Linked DNA regions of Homo sapiens: regions 1, 2, 4 and 5 are each linked to region 3. Evidence: promoter capture Hi-C in human tissues and cell types (Jung and others, 2019). All regions are on one chromosome and are shown on one strand. Each heading gives the region's core, a stretch centred on a gene start or on the middle of the fragment in contact. The rest is flanking DNA. Distances are from core to core; before and after follow the strand shown. Region 1 has its middle 23 kb from the start of DLG1. Region 2 overlaps LOC105374308 (a long non-coding RNA gene). Region 3 holds the start of PIGZ (phosphatidylinositol glycan anchor biosynthesis class Z (Gwada blood group)). Region 4 overlaps DLG1-AS1 (DLG1 antisense RNA 1). Region 5 overlaps DLG1 (discs large MAGUK scaffold protein 1).

What was found. Contacts are between HindIII fragments. The study calls those that stand out against the background at their distance.
Region 1: a fragment that was not itself captured here is called in contact with the fragment with the promoter of PIGZ in region 3 in 1 of the 25 tissues and cell types used here (aorta).
Region 2: a fragment that was not itself captured here is called in contact with the fragment with the promoter of PIGZ in region 3 in 3 of the 25 tissues and cell types used here (IMR-90 fibroblasts, dorsolateral prefrontal cortex and mesendoderm cells).
Region 4: a fragment that was not itself captured here is called in contact with the fragment with the promoter of PIGZ in region 3 in 1 of the 25 tissues and cell types used here (dorsolateral prefrontal cortex).
Region 5: a fragment that was not itself captured here is called in contact with the fragment with the promoter of PIGZ in region 3 in 2 of the 25 tissues and cell types used here (dorsolateral prefrontal cortex and mesendoderm cells).

What each region holds. Positions count from the first base shown.
Region 1 is chr3:197,320,574-197,323,273 of GRCh38, reverse strand. No RefSeq gene overlaps it. Among named protein-coding and RNA genes, the nearest start is that of DLG1, 23 kb to the right of the region's middle. The HindIII fragment of the contact is 6,318 bases long and covers 1-2,700 here.
Region 2 is chr3:197,433,339-197,436,038 of GRCh38, reverse strand. All of the region lies in intron 3 of LOC105374308 (a long non-coding RNA gene), which reads left to right. Among named protein-coding and RNA genes, the nearest start is that of LINC02012, 75 kb to the left of the region's middle. The HindIII fragment of the contact is 5,890 bases long and covers 1-2,700 here.
Region 3 is chr3:196,967,500-196,970,199 of GRCh38, reverse strand. PIGZ (phosphatidylinositol glycan anchor biosynthesis class Z (Gwada blood group)) reads left to right here and starts at 1,367. Exons shown (of 3, transcript NM_025163.4): 1 at 1,367-1,513. LOC124906255 (collagen alpha-1(I) chain-like) reads right to left here and starts at 1,067. Exons shown (of 3, transcript XM_047449439.1): 1 at 951-1,067; 2 at 1-804. The coding sequence starts at 1,067. RefSeq lists silencers at 28-247, 258-577, 688-747, 858-917, 928-1,137 and 1 more and enhancers at 183-718, 719-1,254, 1,255-1,790. The HindIII fragment of the contact is 30,202 bases long and covers 1-2,700 here.
Region 4 is chr3:197,302,892-197,305,591 of GRCh38, reverse strand. DLG1-AS1 (DLG1 antisense RNA 1) reads right to left here. Exons shown (of 3, transcript NR_038289.1): 3 at 1,841-2,700. Among named protein-coding and RNA genes, the nearest start is that of DLG1, 5.6 kb to the right of the region's middle. The HindIII fragment of the contact is 5,403 bases long and covers 1-2,700 here.
Region 5 is chr3:197,230,068-197,232,767 of GRCh38, reverse strand. All of the region lies in intron 4 of DLG1 (discs large MAGUK scaffold protein 1), which reads left to right. Among named protein-coding and RNA genes, the nearest start is that of MIR4797, 63 kb to the left of the region's middle. The HindIII fragment of the contact is 3,796 bases long and covers 1-2,700 here.

The sequences.
Region 1 (2,700 bases), core at 147-2,646, 350 kb before region 3:
TTAACTTAACCAGCCCAACCTGAAGTCTCCAGCAAAACTTTTTATTCCCATAATGTAAGTTTGTTAACTTAAAAAATTATTTAAAATAATTATAGGCTCACAGAAACTTTCAAAAATAGAGTCTATACTCTACACGTGTGGTGGCTCATGCCTGTAATCCCAGGACTTTGGGAGGCCGAGGCGGGTGGATTACTTGAGGTCAGGAGTTCGAGACCAGCCTGGTCAATATGGTGAAACCCTCTCTCTAATACAAATACAAAAATTAGCCGGCCATGGTGGCATATGCCTGCAATCCCAGCTACTCGGGAGGCTGAGGCAGGAGAACCGCTTGAACCTGGGAGATGGCGGTTGCAGTGAGCCGAGATTGTGCCACTGCACCTTAGCCTGGGCAACAGAGCGAGACTCTGTCTCAAAAAAAGAAAAAAATAGAGTATAGTCTCTTGAACCCAACTTCCCCAAGGGTGACATCTTGTATGACTGAAGTACAATATCTAAACTGACACTGACATTGGTACAACACTAGTAAGTATGCAACAGACCTTGTTCAGTTTTCACCAATTTTTATATGAACCCATTTGTGTGTACGCATGTGAGTGTGTAGTTCTATGCAACTTGCAATTTAACCCTGCATATAGATTGTGTAACCACCACAACAATCAAGATACAAAACTATTCCATCACCAAAAAGCAACTCCCTTTTCTTTAGGGTGATACCTTCCTAACCCATCCCTGTTTCCTAACAACCACGAACCTGCTCTCCATCTCTACAGTTTTGCCATTTGAGGGTGTTATGTAAATGAAATCATATAGGATATAACTTTTTGAGATCACCTTTTATCACTACACACAATATACCCTTATAATCCTTTCAAGTTGCATGTATGAGGAGTTCATTCCTTTTCATTGCTGAGTAGTATGCCATTGTAGGGATGTACCAGAGTCTGTTCAACCATTTACCCACTGAAGGACATTTATTTTGTTTCCAGTTTTATATTAATACAGATAAAGTTGCTATCAATGCCAATGTACAGTTTGTGTTCATTTCTCTAAGATAAATGCCCAAGGGTGTAATTGTTCAGTATAATAAGTGCACATTTATTTTGATAAGAAACAACCTGTTAGATAGGTTTTTTTGTTTTTGTTTTGTTTTGTTTTTTGAGATGGAGTCTCGCTCTGTCACTCAGGCTGGAGTGCAGTGGCATGATCTCGGCTTACTGCAACCTCTGCTTCCTGGGCTCAAGTCATTCTCCAGCCTCAGCCTCCCGAGTAGCTGGGATTACAGGCGCACACCACTATGCCCAGATAAGTTTTGCATTTTTTATTAGAGATGGGATTTCGCCCTGTTGTCCAGGCTAGTATCAAACTCCTGACCTCAGGTGATCTGCCTACCTCAGCCTCCCAAAGCGCTGGGATTACAGGCATGACCCACCCTGCCTGGCCTTTTTTTAATTTTTGAGACAGGGTCTCACTCTGTTGCCCAAGCTGGAGTTCAGTGACTCAATCATGGCTCACTGTAGCCTCGACCTCCCAGGTTCAAGTGATCCTCCCACCTCTGCCTCCTGAGTAGCTGGGACTACAGGAAGGTGCCACTGCACTCGGCTAATTTTTTATTTTTTGTAGAGACAGGTCTTACTGTGTTGCCCAGGCTGGTCTCAAACTCCTGGGCTCAAGAGATCCTTCCTCCTGCCTTGGCCTCCCAAAGTGCCAGGAGATAGTTTTTAAAAACAGCTTTATAGAAATAAAATTGACATGCAATAAACTGCACATATTGAAACTGTACATTATAAGTCTTGGCAAAAGTATATGCCCTGAAACCATTACCACAATAAAGATAACAAACACATTATTCTTTACTCCCCAAAAGTTTTCTTGTGGCCCTTTGTAATCTATTCTTCCTGCCCTTGCCTGCCCCCCACAACCCATCCCAAGGCAACACTGATCTGCTTTCTGTCACTATCAGTTAGTTTGCAGTTTCTAGAATTTGATATAAATGAGAGTTTGTTCTTTGGTGGGGGCAGGATCTAGCTTCTTTCACTAGCATAATTATTTTTGTATTCACCCATGTTGTCATGTGTATCAGTAACTAATTCATTCTTACTGCTGAGTGGTATTCCATTATATTGATGTACCATGATTTGTTGATCCATTTATCTGTTGATGAACACTTGGGTTGTTTACAGTTTGGGGCCCTTGCCAAAAAAGCTGCTATAAACATGCCTAGTGGATGTCCTCAGAAGTAGCCCAACTCCCTGGAACCTGAGACAAAAAGAGAGAAAGAGAGAGCAAGTAAGAAGGAGGGGCTCTGGCTTCTGCCAGAGAAAGGTCCAGATGATTGTGCCAGAACAGAAGCACCAGCAAATAGCACCTTTCATTTGTGTGGCACTTTGAAGTTCACAAAAACTTTTCACCTTCATTGTCTTCCATAACTTACACAACATCCTTCCCTGGCAACTGGGACAGGCATTACTATCACCAATTGACAGATAAGAAAACTGGTGCTCAGACATATTGAAGTGACTTGGCTAGGGGTCATATAAGCACCAGAGTCTAAGGGCATTATTAATCATTCTTACTGTCCTATGACCTCTTCCATTCTGGTGTTTAGGAAAAAAGCTCAGCTTCTCCACCTCAAGAAATTGTGGCACACACACAAACCTGATTGACTCTCCAGAGTTCTTTAACGTACCTGACTCCCTTTGT
Region 2 (2,700 bases), core at 123-2,622, 470 kb before region 3:
CAGGAGGCCCAGCACTCGGCGGTGCATTAATGCAACAAGTATTTATTGAGTGCCTACTATATACTAGGCTCTGTTCTAGGCATTGAGAATACAGTGGTAAGAGAGAGAGACAGAAAAGGACTACATTCTAGTAGAAAATATAAACAATAAATAAGTAAAAAACAAATATAAACATGAACTATAAAAATATCAGAGTGGTAAGTGCTATGCAAAAAATTAAAATAGAGTGATGGGCTAGAGAGAAGTTGAGTGGCCCCTTTGGAGGAGTTGGTCAGCGAAGTTCGGCAAAAAATATACTTCTTGTGGGCTTCTGAGTTGAGCATAAGTAACTCTATACTTATTATTGAAGTAAATTGTATTACTTGTCTCCACATGCCTTAGAGCTTTTGTGTGTAGTTTTTTCTGACATTTACAGTTTGTAAAGTATTTGGCAATAATTTAATAACAGGCCACGCTTGTTTTCTCTTAAGCTTCTATTATATTGGATTAAGATAGTCCAGTCTACTTCCAGTAGAAGTGGATGGAGTGAAAGATGTTGCTTCTTTGGCTCAAACTGCAAATAAGTCTGATAACCTTGCATAGAGAGCAATTTCCATGAAGAAAAATGGGGGAAGCAATCAATTCACTAAAGGAGGAATCAGAGGAAAGGAAATGAGGGCATTGGATATAGGAAACAGGGACCACAAGTTGGGAGCAATCTTCTCATTCTACTTGATGGGAACATTATACCTCCTTTCTTGTCTGTCATTTAATGGAGCTAATACTGAGCCATGGGTCATTTCCCCGTAAAACAACCTCTTGTTTTCTCTGAAAGGATCCTCTCAGGAATACACAATGCTTAATAGCCTTGCTCAGACACTCAGTCTAATGGTGACACCCTAAAACAACAAGCATATTGGCAATTGCAAACTAAGGTTTCTGAGACTTTACAGAAAGAATCACCAATAAGAGAGTAACAAGCCCAAGGAAAGGTCAGCTCATGCCAGTTTGGAGGCTGGCCTATTCCCGCCGAGTAGGCAGATGCAGCCATCTCCTCCCCAAGGGAGGACCACTAATGAGCGCAGCTCTGTGATTTAAAGAGCTATCGATTTGTCCGTGACATTCAAGTATTTCTGAAGAACAGGGTTTGAAATATGCTGTTTCATAGCATTTTACCCCAAATGGCCGCATCGAATAGAGATTGGAATAATATATAGAAATGAAAGGCACCGTATTCCCTTAAACCTCATTATCCTTTTGATTAGCCAATTCACATTCTGTTCAACATTCTGCTTAATTTGCTTTTTCTGTATGGTGAGATCAATAACTTTAAGTGTTGTTTCTCGAAGTTGCTATTACTGGTGGGAGACTCAACAAGTTAACAGTCACCACGTGTAATATCAGTAGCTTAAGTGCACAATACCTAGCTGGGCATGGAGGCGCGTGCCTGTAATCCCAGCTACTTGGGAGGCTGAGGCAGGAGAATTGCTTGAACCTGGGAGGCAGAGGTTGCAGTGAGCTGAGATCGCACCACTGCATTCCAGCCTGCACGACAGAGTGAGACTCCATTAAAAAAAAAAAAAAAGTACAATACCAAATGGGAGGGATCTGAAGTGATTCTTCCTTTTGTCTTCCCTGTGAGAGGGACAATTTGCTGACTTCTGAGGGGAAAATCTAGGGGAAGATTTGTAAAAGTCATCTTCTAGTATAAAGAGATACTTGTGTTTTGGCTTCTCAGAGGACTAGAGCCCTCATTGCCAAGCGGAGACAGGAGACTATGTGGAGAGAGGAGACTAGTTAAGTGGAGAGAGTTATGTGGAGAGAGGAGACTAGTTATGTGGAGGGAGGAGACTAGTTATGTGGAGAGAGAAGACTAGTTATGTGGAGGGAGGAGACTAGTTATGTGGAGAGAGGAGACTAGTTATGTGGAGAGAGTTATGTGGAGAGAGGAGACTAGTTATGTGGAGAGAGGAGACTAGTTACGTGGAGAGAGTTATGTGGAGAGAGAAGTGCTCGTTGGCTAAAGGAAGACACCTTCTTCATGCTGTTTGGGTCAGTCAATAATAGGAAGAGTTTCTGCTTAGCAGGGAGCTAAAGCTGAGGTTTGACATAGCAGAGCTGCCGTATGTGAAAATGGAGGTGGGAGTAGTGGCGGGCAAGCCCTCTTCCCAGCCCAGCCCACAGCCCCTTCTCAGAGAATCAACTCCCTGTCTCCCTGCTGAGTCCCCTCAGCACTCACTCCCTTAACCGTCTGCCACAGCTGATTAGATCGTGGGCAGGCACGTAACTCCAGCTGGTCCAGTCAGACACGTTCTGACCTAGGAATGTAAATTTGGGTCGCGGAAACTTAGATTTTTTTTTTTTTTTTTTTTTGAGATGGAGTCTCGCTCTGTCATCCAGGCTGAAGTGCAGTGGCACAATCTAAGCTCTGCTCACCGCAATCTCTGTCTCCCAGGTTCAAGTCATTCTCCTGCCTCAGCCTCCTGAGTAGCTGGGATTGCAGGCATGCACCACCACACCTGGCTAATTTTTGTATTTTGAGTAGAGACAGGGTTTCACCATGTTGGCCAGGCTGGTCTTGAACTCCTGACCTCATGATCCACCAGCCTTGGTCTCCCAAAGTGCTGGGATTACAGGCATGAGCCACCGTGCCCGGCTGGAAACTTAGGTTTCTGATAAGCACTTGAACTATGGGTTGGTTATTGCTATGGTTTGAATGTA
Region 3 (2,700 bases), core at 118-2,617:
AAAGTCGTCGTTTTTAGTGTGAGGGGTGCTATGGGGCACGGAGGGCGATCCGGCTGCCGACCCTCGGCGGCGGCGCGGGAGTGCGAGGCCGGCGGGGAGGTCGGGTCCTGCGGCCTCGCCGGGGCCCCTGCAGCGCTCTCCCGCCAGGGGGCAGCGTCGGGCCGGCGGCGCGGGCGGGAAGCTCCAGCGGCCGGGACGCGGTGGTGCCGTCTTCCCCCTGCGGTGAGGGACCGCGTCGCGCCACCCCGCTCTCAGCGCAGCCCGCAGCGGCGAGGCCACCGGGTGGGACACGGGTGCCCGCGCGTCGCGCCGCAGCTCGCGGGGACCTGGCGCCCCGTCCCGGGAGGGGATCTGGCCCCCGGGCGCCGGCTCTCCGTCCACGCGGCGTCCTCCCTGCAGCCCGCTAGGGCCGCTCGCCCGTCGCCGCCTGCGGAACGCGGAGGGGCAGCACGGCCACGCCCGGCCACTCGAACCTGCTCCCCGGCGCCGCGTGACCGTGTCAGGTCCCCGTCGGCCTCGCCGTGCCGACCCCGGGCGCCTCCACAGTGGCTCGGAGGCCGCTGCTGCCCGGATGCCCGGGTTCCACGAGGCTCTCCCAGCCCGACAAGCCCGCCGATCCCACGGGCACGGGCGGAGGAGAGGGAACCGCCGCGCCCGCCCCGCGCGCCGTCGCCGACCCCGGTGGGTCGCGCTTCCCCGCGCACGCCGCGCTCTGGCGCGGGGAGAGGCCCCTCGGGGTCCGCCCGGGTCAGCGTCCCGCGGGGGTGGCGGCCGTTCGCTCAGCCTCCTCTCGACTTCCCTTTCCTGTCAGGGCTGCTGGGGCTGACAGGCTCCCGGGCAACCACGCCGGGGAACCCCTCACGCCCGCCGATCGCTGCGGGGCTCAGCAGCCGCCCCGTGCGCTGAGTCCCCTGTCATGAGTGACTCCATTGCGAGGCGTTTCGGGCCACGAAGCAGGACCGGGGGCCGCACTCCGGGTCCCCGCCCTGCCCTCGCCGACCTCCCGCGCGTGGAAGGGGGACGGCGGCGGCGGAGCTCCCCGCCACGGAGAACCCCGAAATGGTCATTTCGAACGAGAGGAGTGTGGCCTGGGGTGTCTGGTTTAACAGCCCCCCGCGCCGAAAGGCTGTTCGCCGAGGAGGGGCCGCCGGGGAGGGAGCCCGAGCGCGGCGGGGCGAGACCGGTCCCCGCCCGGCGTTGCCCGGCCCGAGGGACGGCGGCGCCCCCAGGACCCTCCCCAGCGCGGCCCCAGCTCGCTCCGGGACCGCGGGGCCAGGCCGGGCGGGAGCGCGGGGACGTACACGGCGGCCCCGCCCGCGCGCTCCTCCTCCCTCCCGGCCCGCCCTGCGCCGGCGGCGGCGGCCCCAGTCTCCGCGCTGCTGAGGCGCGCCCGGCCGCTCCCACGGCCTCCCCTCCGCCCTGCGGTCCCGCCGCCTCCGGGGCCTCCTGGGACCCTGGCCCTCGCCGGGCAGGACGCCGCCAGCGCTGAAGGCGCAGCCCGGAGGCCGCGCGGGTGAGTCGGTGCGCAGCCCCAGCGGCTCCAGAGGAGCGGGTGCGGGGAGGGCGAGCGGACCAAGTCGGCCGCGTTCCCACCTTGCGCGCAGCCGGGAGACCAGCAGGCCCAGCCTCTAGGGAGGAGGGCAGGGGAGCTGGGGGCCGCCCCCCGCATTCTCGCAGGCACCTGTCCCTAGGCCGGGGTCCGCTGGCTCGAAGCACTGACCCGCCCCGGACCTAGGGGGACGGAGGCAGCGGTGACATTTGCCCAGGAAGGGCGGCAGTGGGTAAACTCCACTCCAGGGCACGGGTCTGGGCGCAGGTTGAGGCCTGGGGTTGAATCTGCTTCTGCTAGAGGCCAGTGTTCTCAGGGAGGCCCATAACCCGACTGGGTCTCAGTTCCCCCTGGTATGAAACAGCAACAGGGCAAGAGGAGGAAACCATGCCACGCTGCAAAGCTCTGAGCACGAAGCCGAGAAGAATCTCGGCTCCCGGCCTCGGGGGCTGCACTTCGGGCCAGGCCTGCACTCCCAGGATAAGAGGATGGCCTCCTGCCCCAGGGGTGGCATGGGGGCGCGCAAAAAGCAAAGGTGACCCTGCCAGGGAGCACCCAGCGCTCCGGTTGGTGGTCATGGGGTCTTTGCGTGGGACTCACAGTGTGGCCGGGAAAGTTCTGTAATGAGGACATTTCTCATCATTCCTTCTTCTCAAAAGTCATTCGTCAGCCCCAGACACCTTTGCCTCGGAAAACTGAGAACTACTTTCAAAATCGTCAACACCCCCATCTCCTGCTACAGAGCGGAGTCCCCACTTTGCAGAGGCGCACTGCAAGGTCGCGGGTGGTTAAATGGTGCGCCCTCCTTGATGAAGATGCCTTGTTCTCTTTCACTCTCTATGTGTGTTTAATGTTGTGTGTTGCGTTCTCTGTGAAGCGAAGGATAAACACGGGCCCTTTCAGGCAACCGAAGGAAGAAGGCGGCCAGCATCAGATCTTCCCGTGCTTCAAGGTGGAGCACCCTGCAGGGCTTACTGCAGCGCTCAGGGTCAAAGTGAGGATGCAGTGCGGCACCAAAAGGCAAATGGACTCTGGAGAGCCACTCTCACCTTGTACCCCTGGAGTAGACCCCGAGGACTGGAGGACTGGAACAAGATCTTAGTCCTGAGGGCGGGAGAAGCAGCCTTTGGTGGTTGCACAGGGGCCCGGCT
Region 4 (2,700 bases), core at 83-2,582, 340 kb before region 3:
TCCTGAGTAGCTGGGATTACAGACGGGCACCACCATGCCTGGCTAATTTTTGTAGTTTTAATAGAGATGGGTTTCACCATGTTGGTAAGGCTGGTCTCAAACTCCTGACCTCAAGCAATCCACCTGCCTTGGGCTCCCAAAGTGTTGGGATTACAGGTGTGAGCCACCGCGCCTAGCCACTCTTCTTTTTATTAAGGATGGAGGAACAAGTTTCTCTTTGTTCTAATATTTTTGGAGTCTTTTTCCAAGAGAAAAAAAGAATAGAGATACAGCTTTATTCTGCTCTTTTGAACCCAAGCTTCTCCAAATTATTATGGTAGCATTTCTTATTAAATATTTACTTCTCTCTTATTCTTAAATTGCTTTGTTCATCTTCATTAGTAATTGGTAAAGGCCCATCCCTTTTAAATTTTTGACTCATTGTCTCCTACTCCCTTCGAGCTTGGCTTTGTTTATTCATGTGGTAATTTGCAAGTTGAAATGATATCCAACTTGGGAAAATTTTGCAGGATTTTTAAAAAGCATATTTGGAAAAGTTTCTTCAACTGCCGCCCAATTTATTTATAAAAGGCAGAAGATGCTTTAATCACAAATATTTAATCTCAGTTGATAAAATTGTCTTGGGAAGAAATTAATTTAATCTAAAGAAAATTTAAATAGAAAGCAAGATTTAAATGATTCATTATCGTTACCGTTCTTGTGAGTGTAAAATAGAAGAAAATAATAAAGGAATTTAGGGTTATACAACATGAGGAATAGGAAAATGACAGCCCTAGTGAGTGTCACTTCCCAAAAATGAAAGACTGGCACACAGGTCTTTGTTTTGGAAGGTTGTGGCAGTTTTCCATCCTAAATGAGATTGGTCACTGGACACAGTCCACATATAATTATGAAGAATCTTCTGGCTTCTCCACTTACCAGAATTCTATTCAGGTCATATCTCAGAAATGGAATACAAATGACTTCCTAAAATTCTAATAGCATTTCTTCAAATTCCAATTAAGTTTCCAAGTTTATCTTCTCTACCTACATAAGGATAATCTGACTGAAGGGCCCTGGCCAAAGCCTTCTGTGAACAGACAATGGTCATTCTCTTGGCAGGGGGTGGGGTGAAGAGGTTGTTTCATGTAAGGAGATTTTAGTATAATCCTGAGGATTTCCATATGGGATCCTACGGTTCTGTCAATACCACAAGTTCTTCAAAAGCAGAAAAGCAAATTTGGTTAAACTTAGAAACGTATCTCTAGAAAAGATTACTAATTTCTCCTTACCCCCAGCCCCTTCTCTCTAAAAGAAAGATGGATGGTTCTGGAAATGTCAGTAGCTTTCTGCCATCAGGGAAAAGTCCTCTGATAATTGTGTGCCGACGTTGTCTGGGAGCTCTTCTGGAGCTTACTTTACGTGCTTCTCAAACATGGGGATGGGAGTTGATGGGATCTGAGGGCACTTCCAGTTTGGATGTCCCGTCATCCAGAAAACCTCTCTCATACTTAAGGAAATGAAATGAAGGAGAGAAGGAAGCTACAGGGTATTTTAAATATATACCTTTGCATTAAAAAGAAACCCAAAAAACTCCGAAACAAAAAACCAACCCGTTTAGTTATAACATACCACCAGGGTGCGGATATGCATTTCTTCAAGGCCCTATTTCCATCAAAACTGTCTCCATTGTTAAAGGCATTCAAATATATGACAAGTACACTGTACAACAGACTAGCCCATGACTTGTGCCTTATTTTATCTGAATCTCACTCAGCCTCTCTCTTTTCTCTTTCGCTTAGTCTTTCTCTATCTCTGTCTCTCTCTCACACACATATACACCACTCTGTGCCCAGTGTTTTTTGTTTTGTTTTGTTTAATTTAGAAAAGGAGCCAAGTAGAGAAAAAGCAGCATAGATTAATCGAAGAAACAATGAACTAATGTTCAGCCCAGCTCCAGCCAGCTGTGGGGTCCTAAACCAAGTTATCTCAGTTTCCTCTTCCTCTGTGCTCTCCTTTGCAAAGTGGGAGACCATAACCAACGAGTTTATCTTATCGGTTGCTGTGGACCTGCAGTGAGTTAAATCTGCCTTTGAACACTGTATGAGAGGCTATACCACTCTCCGGATAGACCAGTTTACACGGGAGGCAGTTATTAGTCCTATGCTGATTTAGTACTCCATTATACCACACTCCAGGAATCTTAGGGTGGCTCTTCCATTAAAAAGCATTAATTCAGTGCCTAACTACCTATCATGGAGATGGTCAACTGTCCACATTTTAAAGGGAATTGGTTTCAACCTGTAGCTTTTATTCTGTTAAGAATTATCTATGAGAAAGAGATCAGTCTTGGTACCACCAAAACTGGGTAGAACGAATTCTTGATGTAGACTAAAGGGTGCTAATACCATTTCAGTATTCAGCAGGGACTGAGGTTTCAACAGCTTAGAACTGTGGTCTCAGAGGTCACGTGGTTCAACCTTATGTCCTGGGTATCTACCACCCTCTGACACAGAATCCTTGCTGGCTTCATTCAGCACCTTCCTGATTAAAAAAAAAAAAAAATTTCCACTACCTTGAGGCAGCTCTTTGGAATTTTGGACAGTTTCTGACAACTCATGTTAAGGAAAAACTTCCTGTGTTTGTCCATTGGTTGAATTTTCATCCATTGACTGTACTTGCCCACTGGGTACACAGAATAAGCCTGTTTGATGACTGCAG
Region 5 (2,700 bases), core at 110-2,609, 260 kb before region 3:
AGTTTTTTTTTTTTTTCTGCCAGATAGATGGTAATTTTAGGATCAACTGTGCGTTGCATATCATGTAGCCTTAAATGAGAACCACGGCAGATAATTTAATACCATTTGTTGAACAAATATTCATGAAGTGCCTGCAGGATGCATTTCTAACAAGTTCATTTGCTTCTGATGAATGTTCAAGATTTGGATCTAGTAGGTTAGAGGTCAGAGTTTCAGACCCATGATAACAAAGTTTTGTTTCCTCCATGAATTTATTTTTTAAATGGTTTTAAATATTTAAGCATAGAGCTATAAACCTAATACTGAGCCCAGTTCCAGCTTTTTCTAAAATAATAGTTTTCTTTTTGTTACCATGAGCAGTATCATTAGCATGGCTCTTCTTGCACCTTTTTTTTTTTTTTTTTTTAAGAGACAAGGTCTCTGTCATCCATGCTGGAGTACAGTGGCGTGATCATAGCTCACTGCAGCCAGAACTCCTGTGCTCAGTTGTCTTCCCCCCTCAGCCTCCCAAAGTGCTGGGATTACAGGAGTGAGCCACCATGCCTGGTCTTCTTTCACATTTTTATCACCCATTACTATGACAGAACAGTGCCACTCAGAGTAGAGTGGCAATCCAAATAGCTGTTTTTTGTGCTCAAATTTAGGTGATTGAGATTATACCAGGTTTCCTTTTAGAACAGATTTATAAATAGTAATACACAAAGCAAATTATTTGCATGAATTTGTTGGTGTTCCTCTGATTCTTATGCTCTCCATTGTGACCATGTACATTGCGGTTTCATGGTATGATTTGTATCTTACAGGTTTGCCCCATTATTGAAATTGTATGTAGTCACAGTTTAATTTGTTCATTTCTTCTAATTGGCTGTCTTCAACTGTGAAAGCAGCTGAAATTCTGTGGTTAATTGAAATCAGTCAAGGTAGTGCAGTTTGATCAAGAGTGAATGTTACTGCATTTGATTTGACATTAATTTTAATTTTCATTCAACATTTTATTTGGCAGAGTAGCATTTTAGTGGTTTTTGTTTTTTGGTTTTTGTTGTTTTGTTTTTTGTTGTTTTTTTTTTTTTAACAGGGTCTGGTTCTCTTCCCCAGGCTGGAATACAGTGGTGCAATCTTGACTCACTGCAACCTTCACCTCCCAGACTCAAGCCAACTCCCACCTCAGCCCCCCGAGTAGCTGGGACTACAGGCGCCTGCCACCATGCCTGGCTAATTTTTGTATTTTTTGTAGAGACAGGGTTTCGCTCTGTTGCCCAAGCTGGTCTTGAATTCCTGAGCTTAAGCGACCCGCCCGCTCGGCCTCCCAAAGTGTTGGGATTATAGGTGTAAGACCACACCTGGCTGTATGTTAGTATTCTTACAACAAAATGTAATCAGTTGTATGGTATTTTTGCTAAATCAACTTTGTAAGCCTACTTATAACAGAAATGTCCACATTATTGTGGGCTATTCTTTGCCAGACAAATTGATGGCAAATTCATAGGTATCTAATGTCACTGCTTAATTCCTGCCGTTTCAAAAAGACAGCAAATAAGCAAACCACAGCATTAATTCTTCACGTAATTTAAGAAAAATAGTGTTTCTCTAACTCCATTAATCATTTAAATCCCATATGGTTCTCTTACAGCAGTGTGATCTAGCTGCATTTCTTCACTGTTAAGAACTGTTAGGCGCTTCTGTTGGAGATAGTTTCTAATGTTGAAATTATCAGTGAATGTTCATTAATTCTTCATGTTGAAGCTGTCACCATGGAAACTTAGGTGTTATAGCAACTAGTTATATGCTATAACTTACTTAGCATTAAGATGATTAAATAACATACTATATGTAAAGCAGTTGGAAGAATCATGGAAAGCAATGTCATTTCTTAGCAGATACTACTATCATTTTATTCTTGTTTTTTGGCAAGTGTGAAAATTAAATTCAAATATTCTTTAAGATGTATACTTCTGGTCTTGAGATGTAACATCACTTTGTGATCTTACCTAAGTCCTCTGCTCTGTAGGAATTACAATTGTTTACATAAAGATGCTATTACTATCTTTGGTATGAAACTCAAATATTTATCAATAGATTTACCATGATGTTTTGAAAATCAGTGGGATTGGGGACAGTGACATGTCAAAATCATCTAGGAATTAAAAAAGAAAAGCACAACACTGCTTATTTAAACACTGCTGGTCTACAAGTTTAGCTTCTTTTGGACTTAAAAAATTTGTTAGCTTACCCTTGTTTTATGATAGTAACAATAACTCAGCATTTGTTTGATAATGAGTTAATATATAATGAAAAAATTTCATGACTAAATAGTTGGATGTTTTTACTATATTGTTTGATCTCCAGTTAATGTGACAGGTGAAGGAGTTTGGTTGGGTGTTGCTCTTGTATTTTAACCCTTTTATAAGATTTCAGTTGACAGTGAAATTTTAAACATGGAACTGTAATATGTAATATAGGTAGTATTTATTACCATATATTTACTTAATAAATTCATATTTACATTTGTTTATTATATAAATCTAAACAGGCAGTTTTGAGTAGTGCAAACATTTTGATAACATTAATCTCAGCATCTTTTTTTCCCTCTATTTTGTTATACAGTACTGAGAAAAATCCAATTTAAACAGATTAGTAATTGAAAACTGTTTTAAAGCTTGCCTGATAGCCTTAAATTGTCATTCTAGCAGGTAGAAAGAA